Regions from separate parts of the Homo sapiens genome. Here all the other regions are linked to region 1. Evidence: promoter capture Hi-C in 16 types of primary human blood cells and fetal thymus (Javierre and others, 2016). All regions are on one chromosome and are shown on one strand. Each heading gives the region's core, a stretch centred on a gene start or on the middle of the fragment in contact. The rest is flanking DNA. Distances are from core to core; before and after follow the strand shown.

What was found. Contacts are between HindIII fragments. The CHiCAGO score rates a contact against its expected background, and 5 or more counts as called.
Region 2: a fragment that was not itself captured here is called in contact with the fragment with the promoter of SLC35G2 in region 1 in 6 of 17 cell types (total B cells, naive CD8 T cells, total CD4 T cells and 3 more); the score reaches 6.7 in total B cells.
Region 3: a fragment that was not itself captured here is called in contact with the fragment with the promoter of SLC35G2 in region 1 in 4 of 17 cell types (neutrophils, non-activated CD4 T cells, naive CD8 T cells and 1 more); the score reaches 7.6 in neutrophils.
Region 4: a contact is called between a fragment that was not itself captured here and the fragment with the promoter of SLC35G2 in region 1, in 1 of 17 cell types (neutrophils). The highest score is 6.6, in neutrophils.
Region 5: a fragment that was not itself captured here is called in contact with the fragment with the promoter of SLC35G2 in region 1 in 16 of 17 cell types (fetal thymus, neutrophils, naive CD8 T cells and 13 more); the score reaches 17.0 in fetal thymus.
Region 6: a fragment that was not itself captured here is called in contact with the fragment with the promoter of SLC35G2 in region 1 in 5 of 17 cell types (fetal thymus, total CD4 T cells, naive B cells and 2 more); the score reaches 8.9 in fetal thymus.
Region 7: a contact is called between a fragment that was not itself captured here and the fragment with the promoter of SLC35G2 in region 1, in 2 of 17 cell types (fetal thymus and neutrophils). The highest score is 7.2, in fetal thymus.

What each region holds. Positions count from the first base shown.
Region 1 is chr3:136,817,684-136,820,383 of GRCh38, reverse strand. SLC35G2 (solute carrier family 35 member G2) reads right to left here and starts at 1,258. Exons shown (of 2, transcript NM_025246.3): 1 at 756-1,258. RefSeq lists silencers at 61-110, 1,174-1,233. The HindIII fragment of the contact is 16,057 bases long and covers 1-2,700 here.
Region 2 is chr3:136,104,958-136,107,657 of GRCh38, reverse strand. It overlaps PPP2R3A (protein phosphatase 2 regulatory subunit B''alpha), which reads right to left. Exons shown (of 14, transcript NM_002718.5): 13 at 1,336-1,442. Among named protein-coding and RNA genes, the nearest start is that of MSL2, 90 kb to the left of the region's middle. The HindIII fragment of the contact is 4,479 bases long and covers 1-2,700 here.
Region 3 is chr3:136,045,152-136,047,851 of GRCh38, reverse strand. The region is part of intron 4 of PPP2R3A (protein phosphatase 2 regulatory subunit B''alpha); the gene reads right to left. Among named protein-coding and RNA genes, the nearest start is that of PPP2R3A, 81 kb to the right of the region's middle. The HindIII fragment of the contact is 9,390 bases long and covers 1-2,700 here.
Region 4 is chr3:136,191,630-136,194,418 of GRCh38, reverse strand. The region is part of intron 1 of MSL2 (MSL complex subunit 2); the gene reads left to right. Among named protein-coding and RNA genes, the nearest start is that of MSL2, 3.3 kb to the left of the region's middle. The HindIII fragment of the contact is 3,944 bases long and covers 1-2,789 here.
Region 5 is chr3:136,081,336-136,084,119 of GRCh38, reverse strand. It overlaps PPP2R3A (protein phosphatase 2 regulatory subunit B''alpha), which reads right to left. Exons shown (of 14, transcript NM_002718.5): 8 at 1,699-1,855. Among named protein-coding and RNA genes, the nearest start is that of MSL2, 110 kb to the left of the region's middle. The HindIII fragment of the contact is 7,708 bases long and covers 1-2,784 here.
Region 6 is chr3:136,141,235-136,143,934 of GRCh38, reverse strand. All of the region lies in intron 13 of PPP2R3A (protein phosphatase 2 regulatory subunit B''alpha), which reads right to left. Among named protein-coding and RNA genes, the nearest start is that of MSL2, 54 kb to the left of the region's middle. The HindIII fragment of the contact is 1,019 bases long and covers 780-1,798 here.
Region 7 is chr3:136,174,049-136,176,748 of GRCh38, reverse strand. The region is part of intron 1 of MSL2 (MSL complex subunit 2); the gene reads left to right. Among named protein-coding and RNA genes, the nearest start is that of MSL2, 21 kb to the left of the region's middle. The HindIII fragment of the contact is 2,920 bases long and covers 1-2,700 here.

The DNA.
Region 1 (2,700 bases), core at 9-2,508:
AGGTGCAGAGTAGAAGGGCAACGCAGGCCGCGGCCCAGGAAGTCAGTCGACGAGGGCGCGCGAGGCACTTCAGCACCACGGACATAGGCAAGCCTGAGCCAAGTCCTTTCCCGCGGAGGAAGATCGCTCCTCCGGAGCTACCCCCAGCCCTCTGGACCTACCCCCAGCCCTCTGGACCCACCCCCAGCACTCTGGACGTGGGGGGTTACTATCTCCAGGTCCTCGATCAACACTCGGACCCGAGCTTTCCGCCTCGCTCCTCGCGGAGCCGGGTGAAAGAAAACCTGGCCCGAGATGCAGGTCCGCGCTGAGCCTTCATCCGCCGCAACACGAGTCTCTTTCCTGCCGGCCCGCGCGACCCTTCTTCCCTCTCCTCCTCTCAAATGAGGCCAAATGGGTGCACGTGGCGTAGAAATTCTACAGCGCCCAGAGCACTGTGAGGAAAGATTCGCCTTTTCCTCCCCGTGGCTGCTGGAGGCTGTGCGGACTTGCCCTGAGCCTTCTCCGCCACTCTCGGCCGTGACGAGGCCCTTCCTCCACTAACCCTTGCCCTCGTCTTCCCTTGGGAAAAGATGTCTACAAACCGTCGATGTACCACGAAAATCTCAGCGCCCACAGACTGGCGTTCAAGAGTCATGGACATGAGACAAGAGAGTAATGGAAAATACAAATTCTTGGCCATATTTCTAAAATCATCCAGCCTTTTTTAAAACTTGTATTTGAAATTGATCCCATATGACGCCACAGTGACTCACCCCTTGCTTGGGTTGGCTACTGGGCGAGAGGAAAGCAACAGCCCCTGGCCTTCATCATGGACGCTGCAGGAGGGCCCAGACACGCGACAGCGGAAAGAAACGGGAAACCGGGCCGTAGCCGATGCTGGCCCTCCCGTCCCCGTGTCCCGGTTCTCCAGGAGGGCAGCACAGAGAAATGCGGGCCCCGCGGCCTTTCAGGCGTCGTGCAGAGCACCCCGAAGTCTGCAAAGCGGGCGGGGCGCGTCGCCCCCAGCCCGGCCCTTACCCAAAAAGACTGTTGTGCCCCTTAGGTGTGGCGGCTAAACGCGGGTGTGTGGAGTTCGGGGTCCGCTCTCATTCCCTTGTCGGGCGGCCGGGCAGGCAGGATCAAGGTCCCAGTCCGCCGCCGCCGACCGGCTCCCGGGGCCCGGTTACCTGCGTGTCGTGGCGAGGAAGGTGCCCCGGAGGCGACTGACGCGGGCGTGCCCTCGCCTGGGAAAATCGAGGCGGGCGCTGCCCGGAGTACTGCGGAGGGAGAGGGGCGCCGCCGCGCGGACTCTGCGCCTGCGCTCTCCGCCCTCCGCCGCCCCCACCCCACAACCTGACTGGCGCCGGAGTTGGAGACTGCGGGGGACGCTCAGGGTTGTGCCTGAACTGAAGGACTTCCTCTACCCGCGAGGTGGGAGGGTCCACGGGAAAGCGCCCGCCCGGGCCCCTCTAGCTTACGCCCTTGGAGGGCGCTTGTTTGAAGCAATTGCCTGTCTGCCAGGGCTACGTAGTCCGCTGCAAGTGGGCACGGAGGCAGTTTCTGTCCATTTCCACCCATTGTTTGCGCTTAAAAGTCGCAAGTCTATTCCTTCATGTTTAAATATGTGTCCAGCATCGGAAAATCGTGGTCCGGAAAAGTCTTCGGGCATCCCCGAGTCCACCCGCCATTTTACTGATAAGGTCTCTGAGGGAAGGGTCTTGACACTGCACAGCTGGTTCTTCTACCCAAGTGCATATGCCCCAGTCCCAAGTGGAATGAATATAGCCTCTTGGAAACAGACTGGTCATTAAAAGCAGTGGATTTGATGGGTCCAGGGGACAGGCAAGAAAGGGTAAGGGCTGAACCAAGGTGCTGGCTGTGGGAAAAAACAGGAGGTGCTTGCTGGTTTTTCCTCTGTCCCTTCAGACCCACTCTCCACTCTGCTCTGTGACTCAGGACTGACCTTTATGGGCTACGTCAACTATAATCTGGCTTTCAATTGGTTTTGGCAAGTGGGAGGCACCTGCAGATCAGAAGGCAGGATGTGATTCAGGACCTCCCCTGCATCCCCAGCGGGCCACCCTGTTAGCAGTGGCTATGTTCTTCATCTGAAAGCCATTACTCCCATCCTGTGGCCCTCTCCTGCAGTTTTCTCCAGGTTCTGGTTACCACTAACTACCCTTGCCCCTTCAGGCCTGGAGTGGGTAATGACGCCCAGAGGTTTCCTTTAACCCCATCCACACCTTTTTAAATAGTCCCTTCATTAAACTCTCCTCAACTATCCCATCTTTTCCCCACCTTTCCAGGACGCTATAATAGATTTTAGTCCATTGCGGTTGGCAAAATTCATGAGGACAAAAATATATGTAAAAGAAATACGGGGCTTTTAAAAGGCGAGAAGTCTTCCAGAGCCATCTTGACAGTTCCCTGGGCTCCAGGCAGCCAGCATGCTAGGTGGTCTCCCCACTGGGCCCCATAGCCCGAGGGTGCTAGTTTAGGTAGACCCAAGAATGGAATTCAGACTGCTCATAAACAGTGTGATCACCAAAGGGCTGGGGATCATTTCAGAGTCCAGCATAACAGGATTTTGGATTCCTCTTGAGGTAGAGAGACAATCTAGATCTTTATAGAGCAAGTGCTGGTGCTCTCCCAACTACAGCTGGGCTGCTTTTGAATGAGTCAATATTCTTAGGACACTTAAGAGAGTCCTGGAAACAG
Region 2 (2,700 bases), core at 96-2,595, 710 kb after region 1:
TTGTTCAGCACCCTCAAAAAAGATAATATTTAATGAATGGTAGAGGTATAAAATGGTACAATCTATATTGAGGACTATTTGACTTTATCTATGGGGCTGGATAGTTTCTGTTTATCCCTCTAGACCTGCTCTTCCTCTATCTCTATGCCTCAGGAGGCTGACCTGAATGGACCACATCAGAGACCACATTTGAGACTGTCTCAAAAAAAAAAAAAAAAAAAAAAAAGAATTCATGTATCTTTCTAAATATACATAGATAGGTGGAGAGAGAGGCTCTTTGGAAGAGTAAGCAAGAACATGATGACACTTGTTGCTTCTGGGGAGGAGAAGTGGGTAGTAGGAAACTTTTTACTATTTCTTTTGTTTCTTTGAATATTATATGAATAGTGCCTGTTCAAAAAGTACACTACATTAATGAGAAAGATTAATTGAGGCCTTTACAGAAGCTATGACTAAGGAAGAATTAGAAGAATTACAAAAGGAGTTACTAGAAGATGATGGAAAAAACCAGCAAATTATAAAGTTGCTGAAGTGATCCAAGGAGTCAAATTCTTGGATAATTAAATTTCTTAACATGGTCCCTTTATGGAATTATGCCCTGACTAGTAGAAATACATGTAGAAGTTACTTCCTGCACAAAACCATGTATAATAAAGATTTGTTCTAAACATGATCATCTTTATTATTATTGAAGGAGCTTTAGTTTTTTTTTTTTTTTTTTTTTTTTTTTTGGAGACGGAGTTTTGCTCTTGTTGCCCAAGCTGGAGTGCAATGGCATGATCTCGGCTCACTGCAACCTCTGCCTCCCGGGTAAAAGCCGATTCTCCTGCCTCAGCCTTCCAAGTAGCTGGGATTACAGGCATGCACCACCATACCCGGCTAATTTTTTTGTATTTTTAGTGGAGACAGGGTTTCTCCATGTTGGTCAGGCTGGTTTCAAACTCCCGACCTCTGGTTATCCACCCGCCTCGGCCTCCCAAAGTGCTGAGATTACAGGCGTGAGCCACCGTGCCCGGCCAGAGCTTTAGTTCTTTTAGCCTCCTCCTTTATGTACAGGGTTTATCAATATCACTAAAACAGTAGTTTGATTGTTCAGTGATCTCGGTTTCCAGTGAAAGATGAGACTCATTAAAGGAAATGGACATGAGAAGACTCTGTCAGGAAATGAGTGAAGATTGCTGGAAAAAATAATCATTTAACTAAAGTTGGCTAAATCACATTTTTATGCTATTCAAAAATGGAAAAAACAGAAAAGGATTTTGTAAGGGGGTTTTAATACTCTGGACATGCGCATTCCTGTTAAAAATTCTATAAGACATAGGGAAACTTACTCACCCTTCCTGGAATTGTGCTTGGGCAGATTCCTCTGCAACAAGCGTCTCATACTCCTCAGCGGCAAACCGGTCCCAGTCTGAGGGCTCAGGCCCATCGTTCTCAACATCCTGATTGGAAAGAAGACAGCCACGAGAAATAAAAAAAATCAAAGACAAAGAATTGGAGATAGATCATCACACAAATGTATACTGCTGAAAAAATCCTACCTGAAAAATGTTTCATTTCAACAGGTTTAAAAGAGGTGCTAAGGTAAAACTCCTAAGGTAATTTTCTACACCTCAAATGGCAAAATTATAACTGTTTAGCAGCCAGGTTTTTTAGGTATAGATTCCATTTTTTTCTTTTTTCTTTTTTTTTCTTTTTGAGATAGAATCTCACTCTGTCACCCAGGCTGGAGTATAGTGGCACGATCTCGGCTCACTGCAGCCTCTGCCTCCTGGGTTCAAGCAATTCTCCTGCCTCAGCCTCCCAAGTAGCTGGGACTACAGGCAAGTACCACCACGTCCAGCTAATTTTTGTATTTTGTAGAGACAGGGTTTCGCCATGTTGGCCAGGCTGGTCTCGAACTCCTGACCTCAGGTGATCTGCCCGCCTCAGCGTCCCAAAGTGCTGGGATTACAGGTGTGAGCCACCGTGGCTGGCTGATTCCAACTCTTTTTTTTAAAAGAGATAGGGTCTCACTCTGTTGCCTAGTCTGGAGTGCAGTGGTGCACCAATAGCTTACTGCTAACCTCAGAATCTGGGCTCAAGTGATTCTCCTGCCTCAGCCTACTGAGTAGCTGAGACTACAGGCATTCCACCTACTAAGTAGTTGAGAATGCAGGCATACCACCATGCCCTGCTAATTTTAAAATTTTTTTGTAGACACAGGGGCTCACTATGTTGCCCAGGCTGGTCTTGAACCCCTGGCCTCAAGTGATCCTCCCGTCTTAGCTTCCTAAGTAGCTGGGATTACAAGCACAAGCCATAGCACCTGGTAAGTCTACTCTTTAGCCTTGTAATCAGAGACATTTCTCTGGTCCCCTCTCCTCTGGCACTTTGCACAGCAGCCACCTGGAGTGACTTGTGGTTTGCCACAGGCCCGCCTGAAATGTACCTTCCCCAAGCCCCCATTCGCTGGCAAATTTTTGTTCTTTAAAAGCCAACTCAGATACCACGCTGTCTGTGATAGCTTCCTGGAAACAGCCCTTCTCTCCATATCACTTCCTTTTTCCTAATGTAGATACTTTGGTTGCCACCTTTTGTTCTTGTATCTCTGCCATCTCCATATATCCAGTATCTCTTCAACACAGTGCCCAGAATTTATTAAGCACTGACTAATAATGTTCTTTGTAGATCAGAACAAATATCAATAATTATACCATT
Region 3 (2,700 bases), core at 118-2,617, 770 kb after region 1:
CTCACTGCAAGCTCTGCCTTCTGGGTTCACGCCATTCTCCTGCCTCAGCCTCCCAAGTAGCTGGGACTACAGGCACCCGCCACCACACCTGCCTAAATTTTTTTTTGTATTTTTAGTAGAGACGGGGTTTCACTGTGTTAGCCAGGATGGTATCGATCTCCTGACCTCGTGATCCACTCACCTCGGCCTCCGAAAGTGCTGGGATTACAGGCGTGAGCCACCACGCCCGGCCTGTTCTCATCTTTATGTCCATGTGTACTTGATGTTTAGCTCCCACTTACAAGTGAGAACATATGGTATTTGGTTTTCTGTTTCTGCGAATTTGCTTAGGATAATGGTCTCCAGCTGCATCCATGTTGCTACAAAGAACAAGACTTCATTCTTTTTTACGGCTGCTTAGTAGTCCATGGTGTACCTGTACCACATTTTCTTTATCCAGTCCACCATTGATGGGCATGTATGTTGATTCCATGTCTTTGCAATTGTGAACAGTGCTTCATTGAACATATGGGTGCATAAGTCTTTTTGGCAGAATGACTTATTTTTCTTTGGGTATATACCCAGTAATAGAACTACTGGATTGAAATGTAAACTCTGTTCTTTGAGAAATCTCCAAACTGCTCCATGGAGTTCAGCCATGTCCACCTCTTTAGTGAGACTGGGGAAATTTCCGTGGACTATATCCTCATACGTTTTCCAAGTTGCGTACTCTCGCTCCTTCTCTCTCAGGAATGCCAATGAGTTATAGGTTTGGTCTCTTTACATAATCCCATATTTCTGAGAGTTTTCATTTTTTAAAATTCTTTTTTATTTTTGTCTGCCTGCATTGATTCAAAGGAGTGGTCTTTGAGCTCTGAGACTCTTTCCTCAGATTGATCTGTTGTTATTAATGCTTCTAGTTGTATTATGGAATTCCCGTAGTAAATTTTTCAATTCTAGAAGTTCAGTTTGGTTCTTTCTTAAAATGGCTGTGTCATCTTTCAACTCTTGGATCATTTTACTGTTTTCCCTGGATTGAGTTTCAACTTTCTCCTGTATTTCATTGAGCTTTCTTACCATCCAGATTCTGAATTCTGTCATTTCAGCTGCTTTAATTTGATTAACAACCATTGCTGGGGAGCTAGTGAGATCATTTGGAGGTAAGAACACACTCTGGGTTTTAGAATTGTCAGAGTTCTTGTGCTGGTTCCTTCTCATCTGTGAGGGCAGGTGTTCCTTTATCTTTTGATGTTGCTGTCCTTTGTCCTTTGGATGGAGCTTTTTTGTTTTTACTTTATTTCCCTTGAGGGTTTGACTGTGGTGCAAGCTGAGTATAGCCAATTGGCTTTATTTCTGCATGCTTTCAGAGGGCCAAGGCTCTGTATGGAATCTCTTCTGGATTTCTTTTTTTTTTTTTTGAGATGGAGTTTCACTCTTGTTGCCTAGGCTGGAGTGCAACAGCGCAACCTCGGCTCACTGCAACCTCTGCCTCCCAGGTTCAAATGATTCTCCCGCTTCAGCCTCCGGAGTAGCTGGGATTATAGGTGCCCATCACTATGCCCGGCTAATTTTTTGTATTTTTAGTAGAGATGGGGTTTCACCATGTTGGCCAGGCTGGTCTCAAACTCCTGACCCTCAGGTGATCCACCTGCCTCGGCCTCCCAACGTGCTGGGATTACAGTTTTCTGTCTTTCTTGAGACAAAGCCTGGCTCTGTCACCAAGGCTGGAGTACAATGGCGTGAACACAGCTCACTGCAGCCTCAACCTTCTGGGCTCAAGTGATCCTCCTGCCTCAGCCTCCCAAGCAGCTGGAACCACAGGTTCATACCATCATGCCTGGCTAATTTTTTTGTAGAGACAGAGTCTTGCCATGTTACCTAGGCTGGTCTTGAACTCCTAGGCTCATGCAATCTTACTGCCTCGGCCTCCCAAAGTGCTGGGATTACAGGTATGAGTCACTGTGCCTGGCCTGTATGGGATCTTTATTTGTGGCCAGAATCCTGTACTGGGTTTTCTCAGGCAATTCATGCTGGAATTTTTTGGTGCTGTAATTCAAGCTGTAACCTGGGAGATGGCATTTAATAGTAAGGGCTACCAGGTAGACTGCAGGTTAGGGGTATGTCTGTGGGTGGTCTGTTCATGCAGTAGGTCAAGGGTGAGGGATCCCTGGGTAGGGTGATGCTGCCTTGGCCGTGCAGCTGGTGTGGTGCCCACAGCCTAGGTTTTTTTGGCCAGCAGATAGCAGTGAGAACTTCCCAGCTTGTGCTTCCTTGACAGGTCTCCTGGTTACTGCCCAGAATTTGGCCCAACCAGCTAGTTTGTCACAAGACTTCTGCACCCAGATCACTGGGCTATTAGGTGTTCCAGACTGCCAGGCTCCCTTGGGTAGAGGTTGTGGCCCAGTTCCTGTGCCAGCCCATTAATCCATACCTCACTTTTCCCAGTGCTCTGAGAGTAAGGGCTCTTCCGCCACTTGAGTTCCAACCACAAGTCTCAGCTTGGCACTCCTGGACTGTGTGCTCTAACCCTGGGGGCCTGGGACCAGGCCTGTAGCTTAGTTCTCTGGCTCCCTGAGGTCGAGCACCAGCTGTGCTGGGTGAGCCAAGGTGCTCCCAGGCCACCAGTAAAAGCGCTCCACTGGGGGCCACTGGCAAAAGCGCTCTCGCAGGGGAGTGGAGGCTGTGCTGTGTGCCTGCTCCTATGGGAGAAGCCAGACAGGA
Region 4 (2,789 bases), core at 272-2,771, 630 kb after region 1:
GGTACTCGAAGTGCTTTTTAGCTGGTGAGACTTTTACTTACCACTTTTTCATTTTGTGGTTTAATATACTTTGGCTTTGTCGAGGGTTATTTTAGATGTTTTTGTTAAAAAAAATTAACTCGTGGTGGGTAGGATACTTTAATTTTTAAGATAGAAGAGATATGCTAAATTGTCTAAGGAAAATATCTCAAAAGTGATAATTTGAATGTTAACTGTGCGTGTGTAATAATTACTTGCTTTTCGAAAAACCTGGACTGAAACGTTAATACAAAAGAAAGGGCAACTGCCAAAGCAGTAATATGCATGCTCCACTTAATATTCTATCCTAAATTTTGAAGTTTTGATGATCCACTTGTTTAGTCAGAACCTGGGAAATTCAGGCACGTTAAGGTTTCCACTTTATTTAAAAGTAGATAAAGGAAGAAGAGTAATTTGGGACAGTTGTGGCTGAAGGGAGAAATAATATTCATTTGAGGTTTATCCAGCATTCTCTATCTAGATCCTGAAGCAAGACACTGAATGGGTGCAGAAGAGGTGGCGGTGGTGTTTTTTGCAAGACAGGTACTTAAGGTCATAAACATTTAAGTAACTGAGTAAGTCATTAAGTGCTACTCTGACTGGTGACAGACACTTAACACCTTAGAGGAATAGTCGCCCAGGGCAAATCACCTAACTGCCCTGGGCCTCAGTTTCTTGATGTGTAAAATGATAATTTTCGGCTAGATTCAGTTTCCTTTCAGCTTAAGTTTTACAAATGTAAGTGTATCAAGAGTTTGCCTGGTTTCATGGTAACCTCTCACTCTACTCCCACTTTTATGGAGTGCTTTTTTTTTTTAATGTCCTCACATATTTTGATGGTTTGAGGACTGAGGAAATGGAGCTGCCATAACTTCCTTCTCCATATACTTTTTTTTTTCTTTTCCTTTGGTGCCGGCCGTAGGGTGCTACTATGGTGAGGTAGGGGGAAGAGGAAGGGCCCACTCTGTCCTGCTGAAACAGCATTTGAGAGTGATGTCATTATCAGTTAACATTTGTAGAATCTGGTAGGTCCCCTGTTTACTAGATGGGTGAAACTTAGCTCTCTAATTTAAGTGGGAAATGGTAGTTTTGAGTTGTGCAGACCACCACTATCCTAAAACTGTTAAGAACCTCAGAGGTTTTAAGTTCCTATTAATAGCTTTCGGATGGTAGTGGTGGTCTAATTGAACATTTTCCCAAGTTCTAACCTGGACTTTAAATAATGGAATTAAAGATAAAAAAAACCCACTACATTTAAAAGTCCAACTGGAGCCTTTTTTATTTTTATTTTTTGTCAGTCTTGGCAACACAAGGGGAATTTTTCTGACAGGGCTTTCTTATTTCACATCATCCTATGGAAAAGATCGTGAGTTCTGCTTCTCCCTTATGATTGAGTAGCTGGCATGGTTTCAGTAATAGGGATGTAGGTTCAGGTTTTTTTCCTCCCATCTCTTTGGACGTAAGTCTATGATTATAAAGACATAGAAAAAAAATCAGTTATTTGAATTCAGCCCAGCATTGACATATTTTTGTACCAGGTATGTACTAGACTTTTTTCCTTAGCTGAAAAGCATTAGTGCATTCAAATTCGTGGATGGGCAGTCTTATTTCATGAAGATAATGCATTTGTAAAAATGAAGTTTAATTCTGTTGTAATGCTTAATTAGGGAATTTGTTTCAACACGTCCTGTAGATTTGACCCGCTACTACCTTTTCATCCTTTTATTCAACTGTGGTTTTACATAATTCTCTTTTAACTGGATTGATATTTTTGTCCTTTCAAACATGCTTTTTTATATCTTTTTCTTTTTTTTTTTATCTTTGCTTTCTTAATTTTCTTCTGCCTAAAACACTACTTTTTTCTAAAGGCCTAACTCAACTCCCTGCCTCCTTGGTGAAGTCTTCCTTGCTCACTGCAGCAAAAAGTTACTTCTGGCCAGGTGCCTGTAATCCCAGCACTTTGGGAGGCCAAGGTGGGCGGATCGCTTGAGGTCAGGAGTTGGAGACCAGCCTGGCCAACATAGTGAAACCCCATCTCTACTAAAAATACACAAATTAGCTGGGTGTGGTGGCAGGTGCCTGTAATCCCAGTTACTCAGGAGGCTGAGGCCGATCTCCAGACATTGCTTGAACCTGGGAGGCAGAGGTTGCAGTGAGCCGAGATCGCACCACTGCACTCCAGACTGGGCAACAGAGTGAAACTCCGGCTCAAAAAAATAAAAAAGTTATCTTTCTTGTCTAAACCTTCTGTAAACCTTTGTTCCAGTCATAAGATACTTATATCTCCTTTGAGTGCAGATTTTGTATCAGTCTGATTTTCTTGATACATATAATAAACTTTTTAGGGAAGACATTGTTTTTTCTTTTACAGTTTTGTATTTCTTCTGCTTCACATTCTTTCCTGCCTGGTGACTTACATGTAGGTGTTTATGACAGCCTCAGAGGAAGAGGTGAGGGAGGGAAAAAGCCCTTCAAACTTTGCAATTAGGTTGAAATTTGGCTTTTACTTACTGTGTAGGCACATTGCTTTAACTTTTTGCCAATTGCCTTTATCTTCTTCAAGTTTGTTTCTCTAAATTTGTGTTATGTGTGGGCTTATTTTTAAGCGGTTTGAAAAAACTTTTTATTGAAACAGGATCTTGCTATGTTGCTCAGGTTGGAGTGCAGTGGTGCGATCCTAGCTCACTGCAGCCTTAAACTCCTGGATTCATGCAGTCCTTCCACCTCAGCCTCCTAATTAGCTAGAACTACAGGCATGTACCATCATGCCC
Region 5 (2,784 bases), core at 9-2,508, 740 kb after region 1:
CATGCCCTGGAGACATTTTCCCCATTGTTTTGGTGATTAGCATTTGACTCCCCATTATTTATGCAAATTTCTGCAGTGGGCTTGAATTTCTCCCCGGAAAATGGGTTTTTATTTTCTACTGCATTATCAGGCAGCAAATTTTCCAAACTTTTATGCACTGTCACTTCTTGAATGCTTTGCTGCTTAGGAATTTCTTCCACCACATACCCCAAATCATCTCTTTCAAGTTCAAAGTTCCACAGATCTCTAGGGCAGGGGCAAAATGCCAAGTCTCTTTGCATAGCAAGAGTGACCTTTACTCCAGTTCCCAACAAGTTCCTCATCTCCACCTGAGATCACTTCAGCCTGGATTTTATTGTCCATATCACTATCAGCATTTTGGTTAAAGCCATTCAAGTCTCTAGGAAGTTCCAAACTTTCCCACATGTTCCTGTCTTTATCTGAGCCCTCCAAACTGTTCCAACCTCTGCCTATTACCTAGTTCCAAAGTCCCTTCCACATTTTCGGGTATCTTTACAGCAGCGCCCCATGCTACTGGTACCAATTTACTATATTAGTCTGTTCTCATGCTGCTAGTAAAGACATACCTGAGACTGGGTAATTTATAATGGGAAGAGTTTAATGGACTCATAGTTCCACATGGCTGAGAAGGCCTCACAATCATGGCGGAAGGCAAAGGAGAAGCAACAGCACATGTTACAGGGTGGCAGGCAAGAGAGCATGTGCAGAGGAACTCCCCTTTATAAAACCATCAGCTCTCATGAGACTTATTCACTATCATGAGAACTACATGGGAAAGACCCACTCCCATGATTCAATTACCTGCCACCAGGTCCCTGCCACAACAGGTGGGGATTATGGGAGCTACAATTCAAGATGAGATTTGGGTGGGAACATAGCCAAACCATACCACCATCTTTACAAAAAAATACAAAAAAATTAGCCAGGTATGGTGGCATGTGCCTGTAGTCCCAGCTACTTAGGGGCTGAGGTGGTAGGATGGCTTGAGCCCAGGAGGTTGAGGTTACAGTGAGCCGTGTTCATGCTTCTGCATTCCAGCCTAGGTGACAAAGTGAGACGCTGTCTCAAAAAAACCAAGGATATTAAATCAGTAGGCAACAGGTTCTAGATTTACCGCTGGCAAAAATGAAGTAAAAAGGGTATTATCATGTGATATGTAATTTTTTGTTTTCTGACAAAAGAAAGCACGCAAAATTCATCTGCAGAGACGTATCTTTCTGGAACAAAATTTCCAAAAGTAAATTTTTGTGAGTCCTTGAAAATAAAACTTGGCAAGTTAAAAACATTATTTTCATGCTTGGCTTTTTACAGAAATATTGTTAAGTGGGAAGGGTTATAAAGGTGTATACATATTCTCTTTCAAACAGATTTAAACAGGTGTGGATCTTATTCAATTCATCATCAGAAAATACACACCAGTATAAAGACTCATCGCTTTATCAAAACTAAGACTGTGATTGGTTACTTACTTCCAAACTCCTTCTCCTACATCTGGCCTTTTATTAATTTAATAAAAAATTATATTATCTTCACTCATCCCCTCTTAAAAATTATTGGCCTGTAAAGAGGACTTGATTAGGTTTAGAATTTAGCAAACGGGAATTTCTCATAATGAGTAGTGATAATTTATATAACTCTTTAAAATGGTTAAGTCTTAGCATCTACAGAATCACTTACCCTGGTCATTGTATCGAGACAGATCGGCCTGGCTGATGTAGAGGTCGTGATCAGTATCTAGTTCCCAGAATTTACAATAAATAACATAGAAATGTTCATAGGAGAAGTAATCTGTAATTTGGTTTATATCTTCCTCTTCTTCCAAAAGTGCTAGGGTCTGAAATTATATGAAAAGAAGAATTTAAACATTATGAAAAAGCAGCTTTGGCCACTGTGCAGAGTCTAGCGAATTTCTGTTTTAAACTGAATTTAAAATTTTTTTCTGGTACCAAATCAGAAACCCTTTAATAGGCAACCTCATCCTACCTTTAATCAACCAATCAATCTATAAGCATTTACTGAGCTCTGTAATATGCTCAGTGAAGGGCTGGATGCTGTGGAGGATGTAAAAGCAGGGGAAGGGAAGTACCATTACCTTGGGGACTATAGTTGGTCAGAGGTCAGAGACTGGCATGAAAAGAACAATTAGATCATAGTCTTAATTATTTGGCCAGAAACAAATACTGTTTTTAATTTTCAAAGTTATGTGAGCAACATTAAGAGGGGTAGGCATCAACATATAGGGTTTCATTTTGTAATAAAATTAAGTTTATATCACAAAGGTTACTCATATATACAATAGTGATGATACATGGTGGCCTGGCATAGGCATGGCAGGTAGAGATGCAGGGCCCTGAGCTGGAAGTAAACCTGGGTCTTCCCTGACTCACTGTACTCCCCTACGGCAAAATCCAGAATCAATGATACTGAACCCACAATTCTGTTGTCAGCCAAATTATTATGTAAGTGGGCAGATAAATAAAGACATATTCAGAAGTGAAAGATTCAGAAAGAAAAATAAAAGCACAAAAGAATGTAAGAAATATAAAAAAATGAAATGGCAGAAATAAAATCAGATATATGAATAGTCACAATAAAGATAAGTGATACATCTCCCTATTAAAATATTTTTTTGATTAAGTATCAAAACCATGCCCCCAAAACAGATCTACCTATATGCATCTATAAGGGATACATCTAAAAAAAATAAGGAAGGTTAAAAAAAAGATGGACAAACATACACGGTTAAATGTTAACAAAAATAAA
Region 6 (2,700 bases), core at 40-2,539, 680 kb after region 1:
AAGCAGGAATTTGTGGACATACAGTCCCTTCATCAAAAAGGTACCAATTGGGGCCAATTAGTGAGGGAAAATATGCTGAGGTAGGTATATACAGTAAGTGGCACCTATTCAAGTTCCTAAAACATTGTGTGTGTTTTTTCTTTTGAGATGGAGTCTCGCTGTGTCGCCCAGGCTGGAGTACAGTGGGGCCATCTTGGCTCATTGCAACCTCTGCCTCCCAAGTTCAAGTGATTCTCCTGCCTCAGCCTCCCGAGTAGCTGGGATTTACAGGCATGTGCCACCATGCCCGGGTAATTTTTGTATTTTCAGTAGAGACAGGGTTTCACCATGTTTGCCAGACTGGTCTTGAACTCCTAACCTCAAGTGATCCACCTGTCTCGGCCTCCCAAAATGCTGGGATTACAGGCATGAGCCACTGCGCCCAGTCAACATCTTTTTGTTTTTGAGATGGAGTCTTGCTCTGTTGCCCAGGCTGGAGTGCAGTGGCATGATCTTGGTTCACTGCAACCTCTGCTTTCTGGGTTCAAGCAATTCTCCTGCCTCAGCCTCCCAAGAAGCAGGGATTACGGACGTATATCACCACTCCTGGCTGGTTTTTGTGTTTTCTTAGTAGCAACAGGGTTTCGCCATGTTGGCCAGGCTGGTCTTCAACTCCTGACCTCAGGTGATCCACCCCCATCAGCCTCCCAAAGTGCTGGGATTAAAGGTGTGAGCCACTGCACCCAGCCTAGGCCAACATTTTTGAATAGAGGTTAGAGGTTTAAACCTTTTAAAAAGCTTACTTGATAGAAAATTGTTCCCTATGACTACCAGTTTATGATACTGTCAAAAGTTATAATTTGTTCATTTAATAAAAATATTCCATTCCATTCTTGTTTCCACTCCTCTTCCCCCATCTCCTTGAGGCCTCAATGCGGCATGGGATGTGCTGGATAAGGAGGCAATAGGAGAGGAACTTTCCGCTAATGCAAGTGAAATGGTTGATGGCAGAGCCTCTGTTCTGGGGAACAAAATTCTCAAAACCAATGCTGCTGATTTCTTGTCAGGATGGGAGCATCTTCCCCTTGGTGCCCTAACGTGTTGTCTGTAAGCTATCAGTGTTAAATACCTCAGTGTAGGTCTATGAATAACGCATATTTTCAGAGTTAAGTGTGAAGTGTGACTCATTCAGTAAATATTTGAACTCCTGTTGCTAAGTGTCAGAGCCAAATGCTAGGATTATAATGATGAAAAAGACTGAATCAGCCCTCTCCTCACAGCACTTGAAGCCTAATGGAGACCTTATGGAGTTAGGGGTTAAGTGATTTAGGCTTAGAGCACAGGCTTTGGAGTCAGACTATAAAAGTCAGGTTCCAATCTGGGTTTGATCACTTAATGTGATTTTGGGCATGTTGGTGAGTGACACCTAATCCTATATTGGGGGAGGGATTATACATTTTTGTGTATGTCATTTTTGAATAAAACATTTGCAAAAGGAAGTTCATTCAATAACCCTCCTTTGTCAGCATCCTGGAGACTCCTCTTAATTTTGGTGGTTCTCAACTAGGGTGATTTTGTCCCCCGCCGCCAGGGGACATTTGGGCATGTCTGGAGACATGTCTGTGTCTTGACTGTCACCACTGAGTGGGTCCTACTGGCATCTAGTGGGTAGAGTGCAGGGATGGTGCTAAACATCCTACAATGTGCCGTATGTCTCACAATAAAATTACCCATCTTAGAACTCTTGCTCCTTCAATGCCAGTGCGTCCCAGGTTCTGGACTAATAAGCTCTTCTCGTTTTGTACTTCCCTGGTAAGCTTAGTCTTTCCCATGGCTTTACTCACTGCCTACTCACCTGTGGTTTCCAAACTATGTCCAGCCTCAGCCTCTTTCTAAGCTGGAGAACTCCATATATCCAGCTGCCTACTATATAGATGGCTCTTTCAGAACAGCAGCATGTATAAACTTGAACTCATCTTTCCCACTGCCCTGGTTCTCCCTATTTTAGTCAATGGCACTGTCATCTGCCCACTCAAAGCCAGAAACTCGGTTATCCCAAGTTCCTCTTTCCTCACCTCACTACAGTTGACCATATGGATACAACCCTGCCTCTTCCTCCCTACCACCACTGGCTTAAGTTCAGGGTACCATACTTTCTTGTTTGGATTACACTCTTGCCACATATCCTTTGCTACTGCCATACCAGGCTGTTTATAGTGTTGGAATAGGTTATGGTCTTGGGACCTAATGCCACTGTACATGTTTTTCAATTGCCTGAAATGCCCTTCCCTCTTTGGCTAGCTTGTGTTCATCTTTTAATCTGAGATGTCATGTACAGGTTTTCTGATTATTCACTCCTGAATTAATTAACCACATCTCTGATTCAGATGTATGTAATGGCTTCCTTATTTGTCTCCCTACTTCTGTTCTTGCACTTCCACTAATCTGGCAGAATAATCTTCAGAAAACCTAAGGGGTAGGGATTATATCACTCCCTTGCTTAACAATTTTCAGTGGCTTCCCTAGGCCCTGCATGATCTGGCCCCTGCTAGACTTTGTAACCACATCTCCCTCTGTTGCTCACTATATTCTGGCCATACTAGGCTTTAAAAATCTCCCCAACATGCTGTTTCCTGCCTCAAAATCACTGCACACAGTCACATATTTTACTCCCTGCCTAGGACATTTTTGCTGTTTTTTCTTTTCAACCTTTTAGGTGTT
Region 7 (2,700 bases), core at 182-2,681, 640 kb after region 1:
CAGGCCTATCACATGGCGAAAGAAGGAGCAAGAGAGAGAAGGGTGTGTGCCACCACACCTGGTTAATTTTTAAATTTTTTTTTTTTTGTAGTAACAGGGTCTCACTCAGTTGCCCAGGCTGGTCTTAGATTCATGGGCTCAAGTGATTCTCCTGCCTCAGCCTCCCAATGCTGAGATGATAGGCATGAACCACTGTGCCCAGCCGAAAAGTTTTTTTTTTTTTTTTTTTTTTTGAGAGAGGGTCTCATTCTGGTTGCCCAGGCTGGAGTGCAGTGACACGATCTTGGCTCAATACAGCTTCAACCTCCTGGGCTTAGGTGATTGTTCCACCTCACCCTCCCGAGTAGCTGGGATTGCAGGTGCATGCCCCCATGTCCTGCTAATTTTTTGTATTTTTAGTAGAGACGGGGTTTTGCTGTGTTGCCCAGGCTGGTCTTGAACTCCTGGACTCAAGCAATCCACCTGCCGTGGCTTCCCATAGTGCTGGGATTACAGGCATGAGCCACCACACCCAGCCGGCCACTGAAAAGTTTTAAAAGAAGTTTAGACTTTAAAATATGCCTGCACACAACTATATTGGGCAAAGAATATAGTTTTACTTGTCCAAGAACTGTTGATTAATTTGCACCAATTTGGAAATGATAAATACTAACTTTTTATGGTATAGTCGTTTTTGTTTGGCTGAATCCAGAGATTATTTCCTTGTATATGTATCTAGAATATGTCCTACTAGTTATTGTTTGGAAACATACTCGACATCTTTAATTTTGGAGTTTAATTTTGGTGCTATAATTCAGAGATTTAAAAAAGGTTTGAGAATGCCTTGCTAAGTGATGGCAGGCTTAGCACAGTGGCAGGCTTAGCACAGTGTTTGGCATATAGCTGGGTCCCAGGAATTATTTACATATGTAATGGAGGAAGGAGAAATGTTTTATTCAATGAACATAGGCTAAACAATTCACTCTTCATTTGGAAAAGGTGAAAAATGGGGAAATTTAGATAAATTGATTATGAAACGGTTATTGTTCCGGCCCTATCTCAGACTTGTTGTTGTTGTTGTTTTTTGAGATGGGGCCTCTGTCACGCAGGCTAGGGTGCAGTGATCCGATCATGGCTCACTTGCAGCCTCGAACTCCTGGACTCTAATGATCCTCCCACTTCAGCCTCCTTAGTAGCTGGGACCACAGGCATGTGCCACCATGTCTGGCTAATTTTGTTTATTTTTCGTAGAGGCAGGGTTTCACTATGCTGCTTAGGCTGGTCTCGAACTCCTGGGCTTGAGTGATCCTCCTGCCCCAGCCTCCCAAAATGCTGGTATTGTAAGTGTGAGCCACTGCACCTGGCCTATCTCAGACTTTTGACATCAGTGAGAGAAGTGTATTCTCCCACTTTTTTTTTTTTTTTTGAGACGGAGTCTTGCTCTGTCGCCCAGGCTGGAGTGCAGTGGCGCGATCTCGGCTCACTGCAACCTCCGCCTCCTGGGTTGAAGTGATTCTCCTGCCTCAGCCTCCTGAATAGCTGAGATTACAGGTGTGCGCCACCACGTCTGGCTACTTTTTGTATTTTTAGTAGAGATGGGGTTTCACCATGTTGGTCAGGCTGGTATCGAACTCCTGACCTCGTGATCCACCTGCCTCGGCCTCCCAAAGTGCTGGGATTATAGGCGTGAGCCACCATGCCCAGCCATGACTCAAATTCAGCATAGTTACTCTCATACCACAAGAGAAATAGAGTGTACGTGTTTATTTGGGTTGATCAGCATCGGTTTATTGCTATTACATTCCCAGAAAATTTTATAAATGAATGAAAACCAGCTTAGTCTAATCATGAGTTTAGTATATATGTATTTACTTATTTTAAACATATATATTACACATGAATACATTATGCATACACATTTAATATACATATACATATTAAGGTTTCTGATGCTGTAAATTTTAGACTGGTATATAGGCCGATCTTTGTTTTTTGTTGGAATCTCTTTTACACAGAAGATGGTACAAATGCTTTATAGCATATATGTCCACTTGAAGCATTTAAGGCTAACTTTAAAAATTGAAGTTAGTGTGTAGAGAATTTAGGCAGGGCTCTTGCTGGTCCAGTTTTTGTGCAGTAAGGATTTCCTGACCCTCACAAACCTGTTATTGAGAATCCATCCTCCCCTTCCTTTTGCTCTTCCTGCCTCAGTCACTATCCATTATTGCCAGTACCTGTTCCTATTTCTTCTTTCCAATAAAAGGTTGTATATCTTGTGGCTAATTATTCTGCCTATTGCTCAGTTTCTGTAATCATTTTTGGGAAGGGGCAAGAAGCTAAAATTGTCTCTGTGTATGCCATGGACTGTTTTAATAGAAGTACAGATAGTGCTGGATAAGTGAAAATAATTCTAGGCTGGGAATCAGTAGACTGAGCCTCTATTTTTCATTGCTAGTACCCAGTTATGTAATCCATGAAAGTCCATCTTGGTTAAAATGAGGTCACAGAACAAGTGATTACCAAGGTCACTCCCAGATTTAATGTTCTTTTTATGATTAATTCATTTTACATTTATTAGGTGCTGGCTTATGTGCCAACACTAGTTTAAAGATTTAGAGATAAATAAGTTTCTGGCCTTGAGTGAGACCCAGTGAACAATGACAATATAATGTGATTAAGTGCTGTAATAGGAGAATGTGTAAAGTGCTTTTTCAACAGATT